Regions from separate parts of the Homo sapiens genome. Here regions 2, 3, 4, 5 and 6 are each linked to region 1. The links are contacts of gene promoters, found by promoter capture Hi-C in blood cells and fetal thymus (Javierre and others, 2016). All regions are on one chromosome and are shown on one strand. The core of a region is centred on a gene start or on the middle of the fragment in contact, and the rest is flanking DNA. Distances in the headings are between cores, read along the strand shown. Region 1 holds the start of APBB1IP (amyloid beta precursor protein binding family B member 1 interacting protein). Region 2 has its middle 20 kb from the start of ACBD5. Region 3 overlaps ACBD5 (acyl-CoA binding domain containing 5). Region 4 overlaps YME1L1 (YME1 like 1 ATPase). Region 5 overlaps YME1L1 (YME1 like 1 ATPase). Region 6 holds the start of ANKRD26 (ankyrin repeat domain containing 26).

Region 1 (3,369 bases), core at 508-3,007:
GGACACACATTATTAATAGTTTAAGGATGAAGTTAAATTTCTTAGACCTTTCACAACACACGTTGAGCAGACAGGAAATACCACTAGAAGACTTTATAAAGTATTTCTCAGCAGATCCTTGCTAATTTCGCCAGCCAGCATCATCGTCCTGGCCCATGTGCCACCCATTATTCCAGTGAGGCCAGAGGGAAAATCGCTGCTCTAGGTTTATGAAAAAGGACAAAGTTTTCCTTTCTGAAATTTCTCTCTGGAGACCCAGATTTTAAAATGAATAGTAGCTAGTACCGGCACCTTTGTTTAAACCACGTTATGCCACCAGAAAAAAACATCTGGGGGCATAATAAACTCACGGGCCCTTTTCTTTTGTTACTTTCCTCTAGTACTCCGTCTCGTCAAGGATCACATTAAAAGTTCTTTTGAACCGCTATGCCCTGAGTGTCTAGGAAACACATTTCACGTTCCACAGGGGTATGAACTAAGAAATACCTTAGCAGGAAAGTAAGAGGTACACCGGGCTAGGTCTTTGGTGGAACACCTGCGCAGAGGTTCTTGGAGACATTAGGACACCCTAGTTAGTTTCCTCCATTCTGTAAAAGGCCCTCTGGATATTCATTTCAAGCCAAATTATGAAACTTGTGCCTGGTGTCCAAATCTATCTTTATGGTATTTTAAAATGAAAATGAGAATATTCGGGGGAAAAAGTTATTTTTAAAAAGAGGAAAGAGTTGTCCAAAAGTTTTAGAGGAAGGAAACACTCTAAGATGCATCAGACTGCGAGCCACACTCAAATTCTCACACGGCTGGCATTTAATCCACATCTAATCTTGGCCCCTCAAGAATCCCTCCAGGTTCCGGGAGACTGGGGCTCCCGGACCTGCTGACCTGCTGACCTGCTGACCTGCTGGACGTGCAAGGGTTCATAGCAGTTCCCCGTTTGACCTTGCAGCAATTTCCTGGGCAGGAAATCTGTCAAATCTGTTGCAATAGCTCGGGAAAAAGCAAACCCGAACCCCAAACCCTCACACCCCCACCCTCGCGAGCCGGGTCCAGAGTGGAGATCAGCGGAGGGGACCCTGGGGACCCGCTGCGCTCGAGGGCCACGCCTGGGGGCACGCGTTCACGAGGCCAGATCCTGGAGCTGCCCCCGGCGTCGGACCCGACGGGCTTGACAAACGGGTTCCTGACAGCCCCGAGGGGCCCGTGCTGGCGCTCCCAGGGCTCCCGGGACTGGGAGCGCCACTTACCTCGACTGCTCTGCGGGGCGCTGCGGGGCGCGGGAAGGCGGCGAGACTCCGGCCGGGAAAGCGACGCGCGGTGCAGACTGCCGCACCCGGGCTCCAGGTCGCTGCCCCGGGGAGGAAGTGCTGTCAGCCCTGCCCTTCCCACGCAGCGCGCAGACGTGTGGCGCTATCCGAGCTGCTTTGCTCCGAGGTGCAAGGAAGGCCCCTGGTTAGAGACAGTGGGACAGACAAACATATGCGTAAAGGACTCCGAGTTAGGGGCTGCTTTCTCCAACTCATCGAGTCTGCGCCTGATTTTCTCTCCCCCATCCCACCCCTACTACACAACCACCTTGAAGGGATTTTTATTTTATTTTATTTTATTTTATTTTAATTCTGGGAAACGTTGCGCCTCCCCCTACCTGTGCCGCGCGCGCCCTTCTCTCAGGAGCGTCTCCTGGCGAATGGAACCATTTTGCAGCCTCGACGCAAGAGGGACTAAGGGATTGGGGCCTAGTGATGGTTCCACCAAAGACTGAGAGGCCGCTTTATGTTGCAACGGTCTCCCAAAGTGTTTACTTCAGCACTTTCTGGGCTTCCTCTTTTGGGCCGGTTGTGCAAGGCTTCCCGGCCGCCTGCAGCCCGCCCTCAGGGGACGCGGTGCAGGGCTGGACTGGCAACACGCGCGTCCCGGCCGGAGTTCAGCTGTCTCTCGGGTGGGGGTGGAGGAAGGGCGCGCTGGGCGGAGGCCCTTTCTCAACCATCAGGTTGGTAACCTCACCCTCCTCCCTCCCCACGTTTAACCACGCTCAGTTGGCCGGCCAGGGTGTAGAGGAATAGCACTGTCTTCATTGCTCGTAGAAATCCAAAATGGTCTGAACCCCGTGGAAGAGAATTGAGCAATATCTATTTAACTTATGTATGGATTCGCCTTTTGACCCCGTCATCCCACTTCCAGGAGTGTGTTACGAAGATCTGCTGATGAAAATAAGTAATGCACACGGCAGAGGGCATTCATGGACTCACTATTTGCAACAGCATAGGACTGGCTGGAAATAGCACCTGTCAGTTGGGAGTGGAGTTTCCTGAGAGAAAGTCGCTGGGGAGGTCTGAAAATACAGAAGTTAAAATCAGTTATGATTTGTAAATGCGGTTGAATAACCCTCCCCTTCTCCTCTACAGCTGTGTCTTCAAAGGCTTATATGTCAGGGAAGGTGGTGAAGACATAAAGACAGAAATTAGGTGCATGTGTTAATTAGGCAATTTCAAATAGTTCTGTCATTTATTTAATGAGAAACTATTCGTAAGCACCAACACTTCTAAGAACAATGAAAATAGTTAGAGGAAACAATTTCTGCTCTCATGCATGGTGCATTCTAGTTGGTAGAAAGCAGACAATAAACAAATTAATATTTAACATGTCAAGGAATGTAACTAGTTTTGAAGGAAGTTAAAAGGTGAGGGATAGAGAGTGATGGGCATGGGGATGGGGTTGCTGTATTAATTAGGGTAAATAAACGATAAATAAATAGAAAATATATTTTCTCCTCATGATTTTCTTAATAACAGTTTCTTTTCTCTAGCTTTCTTTATTGTAAAAATACAGTATTTATCTAAATACATATAACATAATATGTGTTAATTGACTGTTTAATATTATCAGTAAGGCTTCTGGTCAACAGTAGGCTATTCGTGGTTAAGTTTTGGGGGAGTCAAAAGACATACATGGATTTTCAATTGTGCAGCAGTTTGGTACTCCTGAAATCTGGCATTGTTCTGTTACAGTAGGTAGCTAGTCAGGCATGAGCAGGGCAGGAGAGGGCTCCTCCCACCCCCTACCAGGAATGTCAGGTGACCATCAGGTGATGATCAAGCAGTTGTTATCAGCCTTACTGATAACATAGTCGATTAACTCATATTATTTTATATATATTAAATACTGTATTTTTATAATAAAGTAAGCCAGAGAAAAGAAACTGTTATTAATAAAATCATAAGGAAGAGAAAATGTATTTTTCATTTATTTATTTATTATTTATTTATCCTAATTTTTTTTAATATAGCACCAGGGAAAGGCAGTCTCCCAATAGACAGAAACACCTGAAACTGGTATTTCTGTCTGATAAGTGACACTTGAGCTAGATCTAAA
Region 2 (3,369 bases), core at 293-2,792, 820 kb before region 1:
ATATCCTGCCCAGAATGACATTTTACTGTAATTTGCAACCTTCTTAAGAGTTAATGTGAGAGAGGTAGGAATAAGTGAGAGTCTTTCTGCCTTTTTATCTAAATTAGTTACCGGAAGAGTCTAGCAGTAAAATTTAAAACAAATTCAAGTGAAACAAACTTCACATTGGCTAAATAGAAATTAGTCTGTAAAAGAAGATCTTTTAAAAAATAACAGTATCTGTAACATTAAATAAGAGCCAAGTTAGAACGCAACTTCTGACTTTAATTTATAATGAACATTTAAGGCTTTTTTTGCAGATAAGCTATATTTGTTTCCTTTGTCATTGTAATAACACTTGTTGATAAAATATTTCTTCCATAATGTTAGATGAATGGTTATACAATTAAAAATAGAATAAAATTAGGTTTTTTCCGATCATTATATTTTTACAAAGGCTCAAAGTACAAAGATTAGACTTGGAGATTTTACATTCTGCACTGTATTAAATCTTAGAACTATCTATTAAATTCAATCACAGGAGATCATTGGATCACAACAGGGCAGTACTTTCTGCTGATAGAGTATAGAAATATTATAGAGATGTCTAGTTACCAACACGATAGGAAAGGGGGCATTATCAGCCTTTAGTGATGAGGACCAAGGATGTAAAATACCCTTCTGTGCAGGACAGTACCTCAGAAGGAAGAATTCTGCTGTAACCTCCAGGTATCTGATAAGTGAAAAGCTTCAGATAAGCACTACCTGAGCCTAGAGTTTTTCTACACTTTGCAAAAATCGCAAAGTATTTTGTCACAGTTTTATTATACCCTGAATTTTCCAGAATTGTAGCTTTCATAAATGAAAGGAAGGTAGTACATACTTTGTTTTACATGGAATTTTACCAAGACATCATTGATAGCAAGGTTATTTGAGAAATTTAAGTTGCAATGGCACGTCTGTTACCAGTCTGCATTTGGGGCTGCTGTGTTTACAGTAATTCTGTGTAAGGCTGGACATCTGACTACTTCCTTATATACTCTAGCGTAGTGGTAACTCAAGCGTTTACATGCTGATATTTTATTACAATTATTTTCTTTATAGTTAGCACGCTATTGATATTGAAAACTTTATTAAATATGTACGATTATAATCTATGATCTTGATTTCAGGATCGTAAAGCAGCATTACAAAATTTTGTTATAAAAACCGAGTACTGGATCAGATAGGGTCGAGAACAACTGATCCAGACATATATACCAAAGTGTTCATGAAATAAAGCGTAGAAGTTAGTGCACGAATTTGTTCTGGGCGTTTGTTTTAGTATTCCAGCATTTTGTTTCTATTGCTAACTGATGAGAAATGCTTTAAACACATAAACATGTTCTGATGTGTATGTGTGAGACTTGCGTTTCCCAACGTTGCATAAAATAAGCACAAATAAGTGTAAAATAGTGTAAAATAACTGCAAATAGCTTTATCTTACACAGAAAGACAGGTGAACAGCTCGTCTTTAATCTTAAGCATAACATTTGTTTTGGTAATCTTATAAAGATTGCTTCTTGCACATTTTTAAAGAAAAAATGTGAAATTAAACAGATTATTAACGCTATACTAGTCAATATACCATATAGTAACTTCTTGAAGGACCCTTAGCACAGAACTAAGAAATGCAAAATCGTTCTTATTTCCGTCAAGATAAATTTTGACAGAAATGTAGCATTTGAATCTACTCAAATTGTATTTCCAAGTCCAGTGAACGGTAGCAATGCACAGTTTTATTAAAGAAGGTTGGTCAGCTTAAGAAAACCTCAGGGTGAGGCCGGGCGCGGTGGCTCACGCCTGTAATCCCAGCACTTTGGGAGGCCAAGGCGGGTGGATCACGAGGTCAGTAGTTCAAGACCAGCCTGACCAACATGGTGAAAAGCCCGTCTCTACTAAAAATACAAAAATTAGCCAGCTTGGTGGCGCGCGCCTGTAATCCCAGCTACTGAGGAGGCTGAGACAGGAGAGTCATTTGAACCCAGGGAGGTGGAGGTTGCAGTTAGCCGAGATCGCGCCACTGCACGCCAGCCTATGCGACAGAGTGGACTCCATCTCAAAAAGAAAAAAAAAAAAAAAAAACCCTCAGGGTGGCCTATGACAATCCAGAAGGCAAGTTCAATGTTATTAGAAAATAAATAAATGGTGTTCCAAAATGGTCGGTATAACTCAAAACTAAGATTTTAAAATCAAAAGCAGTTGCTCCCCAGTTCCTACCCATTGCCAATCCATTAGCTCTTTTGGCTTAAGAACCATAGTTAAAATGAATCCATGTAAATAGCACATACCTTTGAAGTAAAGAAAATAAGTTTAAAGATTAAAAAGGAAAAAGCTTTGATTACGTGTTTACATAAACTGGGAATCAGTTAACACTCATTTTTCTCTCTATCCAATAGATACCATAGATTGTTTTTCTTTCTAATGGTCAATTTTAAGCTTCCAGCATCATTAGTGAAATAAAACCCATTCGGGAATCATGTCGTTAACACTTATGCAGAAGCACGACCGAATTCTTTAGGGGGCTATGGAAAGGCAGCCATCAGCTCTGAGATCTATGAATGTGATTGGTAACATCCACCGGGAGTCCGCGCATACACGGCTTTCTGAGAATGCAGAAGTTACTCAGTAAGACCTACAGAAAATCGAACTTTTAGAACTGGCATGAACAGGGCCCTAAGTAAAATCAAAGCTAAGCCTAGTGTGGGATGACGGCCCCCACCAGACTCGTTACAAGAAGGGGGCGTCAGAGCTGAGACCCTAAGTTTCCAAGAATGGATTCGGTAAAGGGACGAGGTGGGAAGTGACGGCGAACACCACGTTGGGAGCGGGAGGCCGAGCTGCAAGGGCGAAGGAGAAAGATGGGCTCGCGGAAGGAGAGACAGGGAAACAGCGGGGTAAGTGGAGAACCGATCCGGGAGGTGATGGGTCCAGGGTAGTGCAGAGAGGGGCGCAGGGACTGAGGAGCAGACGGTCCCCAACCGAGGGCCGAGGCAGGGTCTCGCGGGGAGGAAGGAGCGAGATGGGCCTGGGAGAGAAAAGGGGAGGGGGCAGGTCTCGGCCCCCGGGAGGGAAAGGGAAGCAGGCGAGAGCAGCAGCGGCGGGGCCGGAGAGCGGCCCCGGTTTCCCGATCTACGCGGCCGGCTGCAGAGCCCCCATGGGGTGGGCCTGGGGACCCCCGGCCGAAGTCACCTGCAGCGCCCTGCCCCGCCGCAGTCGGCGCCCACCTGTTGCTAGGACACCACTCAACCCCGGGCGCCCTACGGCCGCGTAAAGCTGCGCCGTCGGCTGAGGCCTCCCGGGTTTGTGCCCTCCCTCGGGCGCCGCCCCAGCCCTCCGCTCCCAGTCTCA
Region 3 (3,369 bases), core at 617-3,116, 790 kb before region 1:
GGTGGCCAATCTTTTGGCTTCCCTGAGCCACACTGGAAGAAGAATTATTTTAGGCCACACATAAAATACACTGATACTAACAATAGTTGGTGAACTAAAAAAAAAAAAAAAAAAAAAAATCGCAAAAAAAATCAGAATGTTTTAAGAAAGTTTACGAATTTGGGCCAGGCGCAGTGGCTCACACTAGTAATCCCAGCTAGTAATCCCAGCACTTTGGGAGGCCGAGGTGGGTGGATCTCTTGAGGTCAGGAGTTCCACACCAGCCTGGGTAACATGGTGAAACCCCGTCTCTACTAAAAATACAAAAAAGTTAGCTGATCATGGTGGTGCATGCCTATAGTCTCAGCTACTCGGGCAGCTGATGTAGGAGAATTGCTTGAACCCCAGAGGCAGAGGCTGCAGTGAGCCAAGATCATGCCACTGCACTCCAGCCTGTGCGACAGAGTGAGACGCTGTCGCAAAAAAATTAACAAAAAAAATTAAAAAAAAAAAAGAAAGTTTACGAATTTGTGTTGGGTATTTAAAGCCGTCTTGGGCCACATGCTGCCCGAGGACTGCAGATTGGACAAGCTTGGTTTAGATAACATCTTCTCTGAGGGTAGGTAGTAGTTACCTAGACTGAGATTTGCCTGTGTCTGCTTGTGTGTGTGTGTGTGTGTGTGTGTGTGTGTGTGTGTGTAGTCTGTATCTCATGTGTGTACATGTGCACCATTTCTTGTATTTCAATATTGGTGTCAGGGAGATAATTTTGCAAATGGCTGGGGATCATTCTTGGTTTGTGTATGTTTAAAGTTGCTTCCTCAGAGAATAACCTCTTCAAAAGGGTGGAGGAAAGGGCTGAAAAACTTCCTATTGGGTACTGTGTTTACTGTATGGGTGACTGGATCAATAGAAGCCCAAACTTCAGCATCACACAGTATACCCTTGTAACAAACCTGCACATGTACCCTCTGAATCTAAAAGAAAAAGAAAAAACAAAGAGAGTAACTTCATCAATTTTGGATGTGTCTTGTTTTGGCTACTGTGTCTTCACTATATTAACTACTGAAATTCTGGTTTGTTGAGAGAATGAATACTCAGTTAATATTTGCTTACTGCCAATGGATACTCCTTTTATTTCGTTCTGAGACTTCAGTCCACAGTTTACTCTTTTACCCTATGGGGCATGAGAAACCCAAATGCCGAATTTAGTAGCCTTAAAAATAAGGACAAAGTTAAGAAAGAGATCTTTTAATAAGCCTTGAGAAGTAGAGGTGTTGCTTGGTGGTCAGGATGTGGTATGCAATTGGCTTACTAGATTCTGCTAACTGAAGTCTTTATATTACGGCAGTGTGGGATAGTGTAAAGGGTGCTGATTTATGTTTGAATTATTTCTCTGCCATTTATTAGTTGTGACTTGGTCACATTAAACATTTCTCTTGGTTTGAATCTGATTTATCTCAGAATTATTATTATAATTCAAATATATTACAACTCAGATATTTATAATAAATAATAAAACATTCCTCCACATGGCCCTAGCCTCATAACAAATGTTTCCTTTAGCAAAAAGAAATTTTGTGATTAAAGCATTCCTTTCACAGTACATTCAGAGGAGCAGCAATCAGATAATTTACTACAAGCTGTAAAATTAAATTATAATCACTAGAACCAGTTATTGTTAACATAGTTCATTCTGTGTAATCTCTCTCAACAACCTCCTCCTACACATATAACACAGTGGGGAATGGTGTTGATGAGCATGTAATCCTATCAGAGTTGCTGACTACCATAGACCACCAATGATCCATCTTGTATTTGGTTTAGGAATAAAAGCATGTTGTTTGAACAAGAATTTTAGGGTTTTGGCCAGGCGCAGTGGCTAACACCTATAACCCCAGCACTTTGGGAGGCCGAGGTGGGCAAATCACTTATGAAGGTGTCTGAAATTGCTTGAAGGTGAGAACTGCTCAAACCAGGAAGGTGGAAGTTGCAGTGAGCCGAGATCGTGCCGCTGCACTACAGCCTGGGTGATGATGGAGCGAGACGCTGTCTCCAAAAAAAAAAAAAAAGAAAGAGAGCGAGAGAGAGGGAGCCAGTTCTGGTATCTTTTTTTTTGGAAACAGAGTATCACTTTGTTGCCCAGGCTGGAATGCAGTGGTGTGATGTTGGCTCACTGCAACCTCCGCCTCCTGGGTTCAAGCAATTCTCTCGCCTCAGCCTCCCAAGTAGCTGGGATCACAGGTGCATGCCACCAAGCCCGGCTAATATTTGTATTTTTAGTAGAGATGGGGTTTCACCATGTTGGACAGGCTGGTCTCAAACTCCTGACCTCAGGTGATCCTCCTGCCTCAGCCTCCCAAAGTGCTGGGATTACAGGCGTGAGCCACCACGCCCGGCCCCTGTTATCATATTAAACATCCTGTGATTGGCACACACAGAGCTGACTTTATTCTTTTTAATATATGCAAAATATTTCAAATCTAGAAATACTTTAATTTCTTTGATCAGTCACCAATTGATGGCTGTTTAGTTAAATACCTTTTCAGTTAATTTACCTTGTTCTTTAAATTTGGTGATTCTAAATTGGCCCATATTTATGAAGGTGTCTGAAAGTGATTACAATTTCCTACTTTACTTTTGTGCCCTGTTAGAAATACTACGCTACCTTATTGTTAAAGAACAGACATCATAATTTTACTCTAACTTCAGTTTTCTATTTCGTTTAATGAAAGCCCCTAGTTTTTTTGTTTGTTTCCTTTATTTTTTTGGAGACAAGATCTCGCTCTGTTGCCTAGGCTGGAGTGCAGTGTGGTGTGATCATGGCTCACTGCAGCCTCAATTTCCTGGGCTCAAGAGATCCTTCCACCTCAGCCTCCCGAGTAGCTGGGACTACAGGCGTGCACCGCCATGTCTGGATAATTAGACAATTTTTTTTTTTTTTTTTGTAGAAATGGGCCCTTACTATGTTGCCCAGGCAAGTCTCGAACTCCTGGGCTCAAGCCATCCTCCTCCTGCTTTGGCCTGCCAAAGTGCTGGGATTACAGGTGTGAGCCATTGCACTGCGCCCCCTAGCTGTAATACACAATTTATAAGTTATTGTATAAAATTTTACATGAAGCTCATGTAAAATAATCTTCAAAATGAGAACACTTTTAGATCTTTAATATACTTGAAGCTTTTCTAGGAGTGTATATACTTTTTTTAAAGGATTCCTTTTATTTTATTTTTTAATTTTTGGAGATGGCATCTCACTCTGTCACCAAGCCTGGAGTGCAGTGGTGCCATAATGGCTCACTGTAGCCTCGACCTCCCAGGCTCATGTAATCCTCCCACCTCAGCCTCTGGAGTAGCTGGGACCACAGACACACACCACCGTGCCTGGTTAAT
Region 4 (3,369 bases), core at 587-3,086, 710 kb before region 1:
CATGGAGCCAGCAAAAAGGATGAAGAAGAGCTTGGACACAACCGATAACTGGCACATCCGTCCAGAACCCTTCTCCCTCTCAATCCCTGTACACTGCGGGTTTCTCCAAATGCCTATTGTCTATGATTTGTTTTGTCCATCGTTCTTAGTCACGGCTTAGTTCAGGTTCTTGCCATCTTTCACTTGTTCCATCAGCCTTCTCTCTCATCCAGTCTAGTTTCTTTGTTTGTTTGTTTTATCATTTTTAAATTTTTTGTAAAGACAGGGTCTTGCTTTCTTCACCAGGCTGATCTCGAACTCCTGGCCTGAAGCAGTCCTCCCACCTCAGCCTCTCAAAAGTGTTGGGATTACAGGCTCGAGCCACCATGCTAGGCCAGTCTATCTTCCTTAGTTCTCCATTTTCTTCTATAAGACAGAACTAATCATGTTACTTAGAGAATTAAATTCAAACATGGCTCTTCACAGTTTGGCCATAACCTATCTCTTTAATTTTTTCTTTCCTTGAATTTTTTGAGATATTCCAGACCCTTGGATGGCTTTTTGTTTGCCCCCGTCCCTAAGCCGCCTTGATCATTTTTAATAGCTTAAAAAGTACTTTTAAGTATTTTATTTCATCATGCCTTTAACTGTCTTTTACTATGTGCTGTCATGTTGTATGCTAGGATACGTAGATGAGTAAGGCATGATCTCTGCCTTTGATCCTTACTATTAGGAAATAAGGTGTATTTTATAGTTATGTTAGTATTGAGAAAATGAATTCTAAGAATATGAGTTATAGCTAATTTAAAAAGTACCGTATTCCCAGACATCAGTCCAGAGCTATATAATCCGTGTCCATGCCTCTTTTAAAAAAAACTTTATTTTTAGAGACAGGGTCTCCCCTTTGTAGCCCAGGCTGAAGTGCAGTGATGCTGTCATAGCTCACTGCAACCTCCAGCTCCTGGGCTCAAACATTTCTCCTGAGTAGCTGGTGCTGCGGGTGCATACCACCATGCCCAGCTAATTTTTAAATTTTTCATCAAGATGATGTCTTACCATGTTGCTCAGGCTGGTCTCAAACTCCTGGCCTCAAACGATCTTCCCACCTTAGCTGTTTTGGGTTTGAGTAACATGTAATTGTTACTTGCCTTTAAGTGCCTCTCTTTCAGCTCATGTGGACAAGAAAATAATCCCTATCCTGTTGTTTAAAAGTGGGTATACACACATTTTTGTGATTTTTAGACTTTTTTGCCTGATTTTCACACAGTTTTGACTTTAATTTTCTTCTTTATTAGAAGATATGGGTAACTTTAGAACCTCTGAGTTCAAGGAAGGATCTAAGCAATGAGGCCAGAGGAGTGAGATGTCCTATGGTAACCAAGCATACCATTTCTTTGTCAAGTGGGCTTTTGTTTATGGCTGCTTAGGGGCTTAAAAGCTCCATGGACTGGTGAGGATTATCATTTGAATGGAATTTCCCCAATTCAAGAACCTTACTATTATCCTCCAATCAGTTCTACACTGTTGGGGAAAATCCCCTGGACCTTATATAACATACTTTGTAACCCTGCAGTTAGTTACTCTTACACTCTTGTCATTATAAATGCTTGATCAATAGTTGATAGACTAGCTCTTGATCAGAGTACCCTTGTATGGAGAGAAGGAAAAAATGCCATACATTTCACTTGATTCTGTGAACCATAATGCTTAGGACAGTAGTGGTTTGGGTTTGATTTAAAAAAAAAAAAAGTTTTTCTCATTCATGCTGAAATGTCATCTCTTTATTTAAGGATACCATTAGGAATATAATTTTTTAACCTATGTCAAACCTCATATGACTGATCTCAGTAAAACGAACTGTGAAAATATTTGCATCAATTTATTTTTAAATATTAAAAAAAGGAAATATATTTGTTAGACTTTTAAAATCTGATTGTTTTAACTGATAATATGTACTCCTTAGGTTAAATATCTTGATAATATTAATGCATACCTGGTTGACCCAATCTTTTACAGCCTTCACTTAACTTAAGGGACCTTGGATTATCTGAACTAAAAATTGGACAGATTGATCAGCTGGTAGAAAATCTACTTCCTGGATTTTGTAAAGGCAAAAACATTTCTTCCCATTGGCATACATCCCATGTCTCTGCACAATCCTTCTTTGAAAATAAATATGGTATGTTAATGTGTTTTTTGTTCCAATTAAATATTTTAGCACTATTAATAATTATAGATACCATTTCTTAGCTTTCACAGTAGCGTTTATTGTGGGCTGGGTTCTTTCCTGAAGTGTTTTTTTTTTGTTTTTTTTTTTGCAATTTTTCATATTGAAATAGTACCAGATTTACAGGAAAGTTGCAAAGATAGTACAGAATTTTGCTTCCACTAATTTTGGCATCTTACATAATCATGTTACATTTGTTAAAACTAGGAAATTAACATTGGTACAATAATTTTTTTTTTGAGACGGAGTCTCCTTCTGTCAGCCAGGCTGGAGTGCAGTGGCACAATCTCCGCTCACTGCAAGCTCCGCCTCCCGGGTTCACACCATTCTCTTGCCTCGGCCTCCCAAGTAGCTGGGACTACAGGCGCCCGCCACCACGCCCGGCTAATTTTTTGTATTTTTAGTAGAGATGGGGTTTCACCGTGTTAGCCAGGATGATCTTGATCTCCTGACCTCGTGATCCACCCTCCTCAGCCTCCCAAAGTGCTGGGATTATAGGCGTGAGCCACCGTGCAGGCCTAACATTGGTACCTTATTTTTAACTAAACTACAGACTATTTGAATTTCAACAAAATTTGTTTTCACCAAATCACTAGTTCTCTGCAAGTGTCCTTTTTCTTTTCCAGGATCTGATCCAGCATACCACATTGCATTTAGCAGAATGGGGGGGCGTTGTTTGTTTTAATTTTAGGTGACACACATTTAATTCCAGGAAACATACTTAATCTTTGAGAATACATTGATTAAAAAAACAGTTGTTATCCCTTTTGTGGAATGTCTACATTTTTTTTTACTTGAATCTCATAACAGTATGGTAGTATAATAAGTGGGTTCATACTAGTCTGAAAAGGGATGTCAACTTTATGAGTTTTTCTTTGGATGGCACTTAAACAGGCCATAAAAATCCAGGAACAAAATAGCAGGTTTGACTAGTTTATAATGAAGGTTTGATTTGAAGCTGTCCTTTGCATAAACTTAATTCATTAATTCTTGACCCTTCCTTTGCCTTTATTTCAGTGTAAGGGCATAAAAAACCGTAAGTGTGAGGAAAAAATGAAATGGTTTTGAGCTTGGGGGCTTAGACTAAAAGTTTGCCTCTGCCTAAAGTTGCCTTCTTATAAAATATTTGGCCCATACCAAGTGTTCAATAGAATAAAATTCTT
Region 5 (3,369 bases), core at 329-2,828, 690 kb before region 1:
AAGTTTAAGTCTTAATTGCTATTTTACAAAATAGATGTTCATTCTGAACATACAATTCCATAGCCTTTTTTTTTTGGTAACTGCAAGTTTTTATATACTTTCAAATTTAAAGTTACAAGAATAGTACATAGAATGCTCCTCATACCCTTTACCTAGACTCACAAATTTTTAATATTTAGTTTCCTTTTTAGACCCAGGCTTGAGTGCAGTGATGCAATCATGGCTCGCTGTAGCCACAACCTCCCGAGTTCAGGCGGCCCTCCCAAGTAGCTGAGACCACAGGTACACACCACCATGCCGGCTAATTTTTGTATTTTTTGTAGAGATGAGGTTACTCCATGTTGCCCAGGCTGCTCTTGAACTCCTGGGCTCAAGCGATCCACTCACTTTGGCCTCCTAAAGTACTAGGACTGCAGGCATGAGCCAGCGCACTCAACCTAACTCCATTTTAAAAATCATTCACTTTGTCTCTTTATGTATATATAAATATAAAAATTATTTGTAAATAAATAAATTTTTAACTATTTGAGAGTAAATTGTAAACAATCACCCCAAGTGTGTATTTCCTAAGAATAAGGATATTCTTCTATGTAACTCCAGAATAATATTAAAATTAGGACATTACTGGGTGTGGTGGCTCACGCCTTTAATCCCAGCAGTTTAGGAGGTGGAGGCGGGTGGATTACTTGAGATCAGGAGTTCGAGACCAGTCTGGTCTTGAACCAGGGGCCATTGGAGTTCCAACCAGCCTGGCCAACATGGTGAAACCCTGTCTCTACTAAAAAAAGAAATTAGCTGGGCTTGGTGGCAGGCGCCTGTAATCCCAGCTACTCAGGAGGCTGAGGCAGGAGAATCGTTTGAACCTAGGAGGCAGAGGTTGCAGTGAGCCGAGATTGTTCCCACTGCACTCCAGTCTGGGTGACAAAGCAAGATTCTGTCTCAAAAAAAAAAAAAAAATAGGACATTTAACATACATACAAAACCATTATCAAATTTAGAGTCTATATTCAAATTTCAGCATTTGCTCCAATAGTATCCTTTGTAGTGTTGCCCTGATCCCTACCCACTTCCCCAGTTCAGGACCTAATCCAGGATCACAGGTAACATTTAGGCTTTTATTGTTTTTTTTTTTTTTTTTTTCAAATGAAACAATGAAACAATTCCTTAGCCTTTTGTGAGGGAGTGGAGAGAAGAGGATCTTTCATGATTTTTACAGTTGCAAAGAGTACTTGCCTAATTATTTATAGAATGTTCTCAGTTTAGCTTTGTCTGATGTTTTCTCATGGTTAACATGACTTTTAATGACTTCACAGTATCCTTCTAATTTATGGTTGTATCACAATTTAACCATTTATATTGAATTTTTATATGGTTTCCAGTTTTTTTGCTATTAAGAATAGTGCTGTGTTTCATCTTAATTCAAGGCTTTGCCTGCATGCTTAATTATTTCTTTAGAATAAATTTCTAGAAATGGAATTGCTGAGTTAAAGGATGACACTCCTTTTTAATGCTTGTTTTTATGCTGCCAACTATCTCCACTGAAAATACAGCAGTGTATGAAATTATTTGCAGTAACCTTTGCTAATTTAGGGTACATTTATTAAATCAGTGCTTAATAATGATAACTTTAGCTAATATCACTGGCAAAAGCCTTATCAACATCATGTACTTCCTGATGCTCTAGAAAGGACCCAAGTGATGGCTTATGTGGTGTCCACGCAAAAAGGAATTAAAAAAGAGCACAATCTCAATACAATCATGAGAAAACACTGGAAAAGCCCATATCAGGAGACATTCCACATACCACCTTTACATTTATTTAAACATCACAGAGTGAATGTTTAAAACCATAGAAGTATTAATAGTTACACTCTTCCTCTTTCTAATCACAAGGAGTATTTTAAATTTGTAGAAAATTTGAGTAGTATAAATTTGTAGAAAAATCTTCAGATACCAAGATGTAATCCACAGAAATTAATATGATTTAAACCAGTTAAGTATAACTAAAACATGACAATACTAGGATAGTCTTAAAGCTATTTTTGAGCTTGAGCTTTCTTTAAAATTTTTTTTATGTTAAAATGCAGCAAACATGTATGTAAAGAAGTTTTGTTGCTTTTTAAATGTAATATGTATATTTATAAAAACATATAAATCAGGTAATTCTGTTTTTCTAACGTGAAAATCTTTGGTGTTATGAAAATTTGCAAACATGGAAAACCTTGAAAGAACAGTACAATTAACATCCATATCCTATCCACTTAGACTCAACAATTGTTAACATTCTGTCATATTTGCTTTCTGTGTTATGTGTGTATTTTTCCCCCTGAACATTTGAAAGAAAACTATAAACGTCAACTACTTGACATCTAAAGACTTTCTTGTACATCACCTAAGAATAAGGACAGTGTCCTAAATAAACATAATAACCTTATCCCACCAAAGGAAATTATGCCTATTTCCTTAATATCATGTACTCTCAGTCTTGTTTAAATGTTTTCACCAGATGTCTCTAGAATTTTTTGTTCTTTATGAAAAAGCATCAAATCAGGATTCACTAATTACATTTGGTTGTTTAGTCTTTTAATCTATTTTTACATGAATTTTATCTTATTTAGTGATAAATGGGTTTATATTTTTTTGCCTCAAGATTCTCCCTGTCATGTCTCTTGTTGATATGGAAACAATATTTATATAATACAGGAACATTAATTTTGGACAAGATTCTGAAGTGAACCATTAGCAGAGACAAGTACGGTTTGCTGTGTTTCAAAATATTGGTTATTGGTGTGACCTCAGCCTGAAAATTATATAAATGAATAATTATTTATTTTATAGGTTCATATCGAGGGATTTTTTAAAAATACTTTGAATCATTCTCGTTTTCATTTTCTTTTAGGAATTCTTTTAGTTGGACCCCCAGGGACTGGAAAGACACTTCTTGCCCGAGCTGTGGCGGGAGAAGCTGATGTTCCTTTTTATTATGCTTCTGGATCCGAATTTGATGAGATGTTTGTGGGTGTGGGAGCCAGCCGTATCAGAAATCTTTTTAGTACGTTTTGGTGTATCTTTGATGCAGTGCTAAATTTTGTTAAGGGAAGTGTGTATCTTACCCTTTCTTTGCTAATTACTTTTTTTCTTCCTTTTTTTAATTTCTATTTTTTGGGGCCTCCAGCTTTGCATGCTAATTAGTTTTGATTGATAGTTAAAATAGCCATTGTGGGACCTTGGTTTGGGTAACTTACTATATGAATTATCGGAAGAGCTAGTGGAAGTGCAAGATGAAGTTGGAGGCTACCAAAAATCTCTTAGTGTTTTTTCATTTTATTCATCAATTTTGTAGTATGGAATTAAGGAGTAATTAGCTTC
Region 6 (3,369 bases), core at 333-2,832, 660 kb before region 1:
AGTCCTCTGTTCAGAGTCAGTGTTCTCCACACTTGAGTATTTTTTGTTTGTTTTTGTTTTTGTTTTTTGAGAGAGAGTCGTGGTCTCCATCCAAGAGTCTCCACTCCAGAGGCAGTGGTGTGAACCTCTGCCTCCCAGGTTCAAGTGTTTCTCCTGCCTCAGCCTCCCGAGTAGCTGGGACTACAGGCATGCACCACCACACCCAGCTAATTTTTGTATTTTTAGTAGAGACGGGGTTTCACCACGTTGGCCTGGTCTCGAACTCCTGACCTCAGGTAATCCACCCACCTCGGCCTCCTAAAGTGCTGGGACTTGACTAGCTTCATAGATCACCTTGGGGAGTGTTGAGGAGACAACATAACTTTCTAGCTGGGGTAGTGTAGGAGGAAAATTCTTGGTGACGATAGTGGAAACCACTCTCCCACATCAAAACCATTTGATCTAGCTAAGCTGGAGAGGCCTGAGAAGTGTTGTTTTGTTTTTGCTCATTTCTCACTTGGCAATAAAGACGCCTGTTCTGGGGCCAGCCACCTCCTCCACAAGGGACCCTAGAGCTGTCCAGAGCTATGGAGGTGCATTCCAGCAGCAATTTCTGCTGAGACTCCACTTGACGTCTGCGTTGCTAATTCCAATTTGTTGTCAAATTATTCAATCTAGGCTGGGCGTGGTGGTTCACACCTGTAATCCCAGCACTTTGGGAGGCTGAGATGGGAGCATCATTTGAGCCCTGGAGTCGGAGACCAGCCTGGGCAACATGGTGAGACCCTGTCTCTACAAAAAATGCAAAAATAGCCGGGCGTGGTGGCTTGCGTCTGTAGTCTCAGCTACTCACTCAGGAGGCTGAGGTGGGAGTATCGTTGAGCCCAGGAGGTGGAGACTGCAGTGAGCCGTGATTGCACCACTGCACTACAGTCTGGGCGACAAAGCGAGACTCTGTTGGGGAAAAAAAAAAAAAAAAGAAGAAAGAGATGTAACCTTGGAAAATCAAAAGCAAAAAATAAAACATAAGGCTGGGCCAAAGGCAGAGGGGTGGGGGAAGGAGGCATGCAGAAATGCGTTCTCATTTCTTCTGGAGAATGTGCATTGGTTTCTCCTCGTAAGTTTGCACTTGACACATATTGCCACGATCTCCGAAATCCTGTGCCCTCTGCACTTGACACATATGCCACGATCTCCGAAATCCTGTGCCCTCTGTTGTTGCATCTGTTAAGTTCTCATGGAGACCAGATGGCACCCAAAGGGACATGGAAGGGGAATAAACTGAGAGATAGGGAGATTCAGAGAGTTTCTTAGGGGAGTTTTCTCGGAGAAGAGGCTTTCAGCATCTTAAAACTCCACGCTACTCCAGTCCCAGTCATGCGTAAAGGCTGCTTCCCCACAGGCGCGAGGCTTCTTTTCGCAAACGTCCTGAACACTCAGCCAGACTCCCACCGACATTTGTTTGACAGGAACGCAGGGCTCGTCCCAGTCGCCGAGATTTGCGAGGTCTGGGCCTTGCACATGCGCATGGAGCACACTTGACCACTGGGCCTTCGTGCGCACGCGCGTGGACCTTGCCATCTGAGGTGCGCATGCGCACTTGTGTCTAGCGGGATCGCTTGCTTGGTAACCCGGAGGGAGAGATTGGAAACCGCGGAGTTTCCTTTGGGAGGCTGCGGCCAGCCGGGGCTGACTTGTTATGTTGGGCTCCGGAGGCCGTTAAGAGCCGAGAGAGACATGAGGTGTCTCTGAAGCCCGGTCGCCTGGGCCATGAAGAAGATTTTTAGTAAGAAGGGCGAGTCGCCCTTGGGCTCCTTCGCGCGGCGGCAGAGGAGCAGCGCGGGAGGCGGGGGCGAGCCGGGGGAGGGCGCCTACTCGCAGCCCGGCTACCACGTCCGAGACCGAGATCTCGGCAAGATCCACAAAGCTGCCAGCGCGGGTAATGTGGCGAAAGTGCAGCAGATCCTTTTGCTCAGGAAGAATGGCTTGAACGATAGAGACAAGATGAACAGGTAATAGGCGTCGCAAGCCCGGACTGAGTGCCACTGGAGTAGGCGGGCAGGAAGAGGGGCCCCTTTTGTGGGAGCCACCCAGGGCCTGGATCAGCCTCCCGCGGGCTCCGTAGCCCCTGGGACGGTGACACCTTGCAGGGCTCCAGCGCCCAGGCCGCCTTTCTGAGCAGAAAAACAAAAACAGAACTCTAGCTGGTTTCCGATCCCCCCGAAATCCCTTAGAGAGCACTTAAGTGACAATTTTAAAGTGAATTAACGAACAAAAGCACGTACAGCGTTTTATTTTTAATGTACACATTTAAGATACAATGTCATACACTTATGGAAAGGTGCATAATGAGATAAGCAGTTTCCATAATATAGCAACTTCTGGGTTAAAAATTATTTCTATAAAATCTGTTATTCGTCAGGCGCGGTGGCTCGCGCCTGTAATCACAGCACTTCGGGAGGCTGAGGCGGGAGGATTGCTTGAGGCCAGGAGTTCAAGGCCAGCCTGGGCATTATAGCGAGACCCCCCCCCCCAACTCTAATAGTCTCAGCTACTTGGAAGGCTGAGGCAGGAGCATCACTTGAGCCCAGGAGTTCTAGGCTGCAGTGAGGTATGTCAGTGACAACAGAGCAAGACCCTATCTTTCAAAAAGAAAAAGAAATAAAATGCCTTTAGGAAATAGATATACAAGTAATTTGTTTTTCTCAGCATTGCTTAAGCAGTGTATTAAGGAGAACCCATAGAATGGATTTTGTGAATAAATGTCAGTGCATGATAATATGTGACCATTGAAAGTGGCAGTAGAGGCCAGGCGTGGTGGCTCGCGCCTGTAAACCCAGCATTTTAGGAGACCAAGGCAAGCGGATATCCTGAGGTCAGAAGTTCGAGACCAGCTTGGCCAACATGGTGAAACCCCGTCTCTACTAAAAATACAAAAATTAGCTAGGCATGGTGGTGGGAGCCTGTAATCTCAGCTACTCCGAAGACTGAGGCAGGAGAATCGCTTGAACCTGGGAGGCAGAGGTTGCAGTGAGCCAAGATCGTGCCATTGCACTCCAGCCTGGGCAACAAGAGCAAAACTCTGTCTCAAAAAAAAGAAAGAAAGAAAAGAAAGTGGCAATAGATACAGAAGTGTATTGGCATGTGAGGATATACTTTGGTATCTCAAGTGAGAAAAAAAGTTTGATTATACATACAGACTGTGGTCTTGTGTTAGCTGAAAATATGTACAAAACGTGGTAAAATTTGGCCAGGCGCGGTGTCTCACGCCTGTAATCCCAGCACTTCGGGAGGCCGAGGCGGGCGGATCACGAGGTCAGGAGATCGAGACCATCCTGGCTAACACAGTGAAACCCCGTTTCTACTAAAAATACAAAAAAATCAGCCGGG

What was found. The method cuts DNA at HindIII sites, captures the fragments that hold promoters and counts their contacts. A CHiCAGO score of 5 or more calls a contact.
Region 2: a contact is called between a fragment that was not itself captured here and the fragment with the promoter of APBB1IP in region 1, in 1 of 17 cell types (activated CD4 T cells). The highest score is 6.1, in activated CD4 T cells.
Region 3: a fragment that was not itself captured here is called in contact with the fragment with the promoter of APBB1IP in region 1 in 2 of 17 cell types (naive CD4 T cells and naive CD8 T cells); the score reaches 6.0 in naive CD4 T cells.
Region 4: a fragment that was not itself captured here is called in contact with the fragment with the promoter of APBB1IP in region 1 in 4 of 17 cell types (neutrophils, activated CD4 T cells, total CD4 T cells and 1 more); the score reaches 9.4 in neutrophils.
Region 5: a contact is called between a fragment that was not itself captured here and the fragment with the promoter of APBB1IP in region 1, in 1 of 17 cell types (neutrophils). The highest score is 5.5, in neutrophils.
Region 6: the fragment with the promoter of ANKRD26 here is called in contact with the fragment with the promoter of APBB1IP in region 1 in 1 of 17 cell types (neutrophils); the score reaches 5.4 in neutrophils.

The regions. Positions count from the first base shown.
Region 1 is chr10:26,436,729-26,440,097 of GRCh38, reverse strand. APBB1IP (amyloid beta precursor protein binding family B member 1 interacting protein) reads right to left here and starts at 1,757. Exons shown (of 15, transcript NM_019043.4): 1 at 1,643-1,757; 2 at 1,245-1,446. RefSeq lists enhancers at 1,424-1,503, 2,064-2,193, 1,911-2,440. The HindIII fragment of the contact is 5,297 bases long and covers 1-3,369 here.
Region 2 is chr10:27,258,904-27,262,272 of GRCh38, reverse strand. It overlaps the pseudogene ODAD2P1. Among named protein-coding and RNA genes, the nearest start is that of ACBD5, 20 kb to the right of the region's middle. The HindIII fragment of the contact is 1,626 bases long and covers 730-2,355 here.
Region 3 is chr10:27,223,760-27,227,128 of GRCh38, reverse strand. The region is part of intron 4 of ACBD5 (acyl-CoA binding domain containing 5); the gene reads left to right. Among named protein-coding and RNA genes, the nearest start is that of ACBD5, 15 kb to the left of the region's middle. The HindIII fragment of the contact is 2,587 bases long and covers 573-3,159 here.
Region 4 is chr10:27,144,217-27,147,585 of GRCh38, reverse strand. YME1L1 (YME1 like 1 ATPase) reads left to right here. Exons shown (of 19, transcript NM_014263.4): 3 at 1,996-2,158. Among named protein-coding and RNA genes, the nearest start is that of YME1L1, 8.5 kb to the left of the region's middle. The HindIII fragment of the contact is 3,780 bases long and covers 1-3,369 here.
Region 5 is chr10:27,123,230-27,126,598 of GRCh38, reverse strand. YME1L1 (YME1 like 1 ATPase) reads left to right here. Exons shown (of 19, transcript NM_014263.4): 10 at 2,900-3,052. Among named protein-coding and RNA genes, the nearest start is that of ANKRD26, 24 kb to the right of the region's middle. The HindIII fragment of the contact is 4,704 bases long and covers 1-3,369 here.
Region 6 is chr10:27,098,707-27,102,075 of GRCh38, reverse strand. It overlaps ANKRD26 (ankyrin repeat domain containing 26), which reads left to right and starts at 1,582. Exons shown (of 34, transcript NM_014915.3): 1 at 1,582-1,991. The coding sequence starts at 1,750. RefSeq lists a silencer at 1,736-1,915 and an enhancer at 2,086-2,145. The HindIII fragment of the contact is 14,700 bases long and covers 1-3,369 here.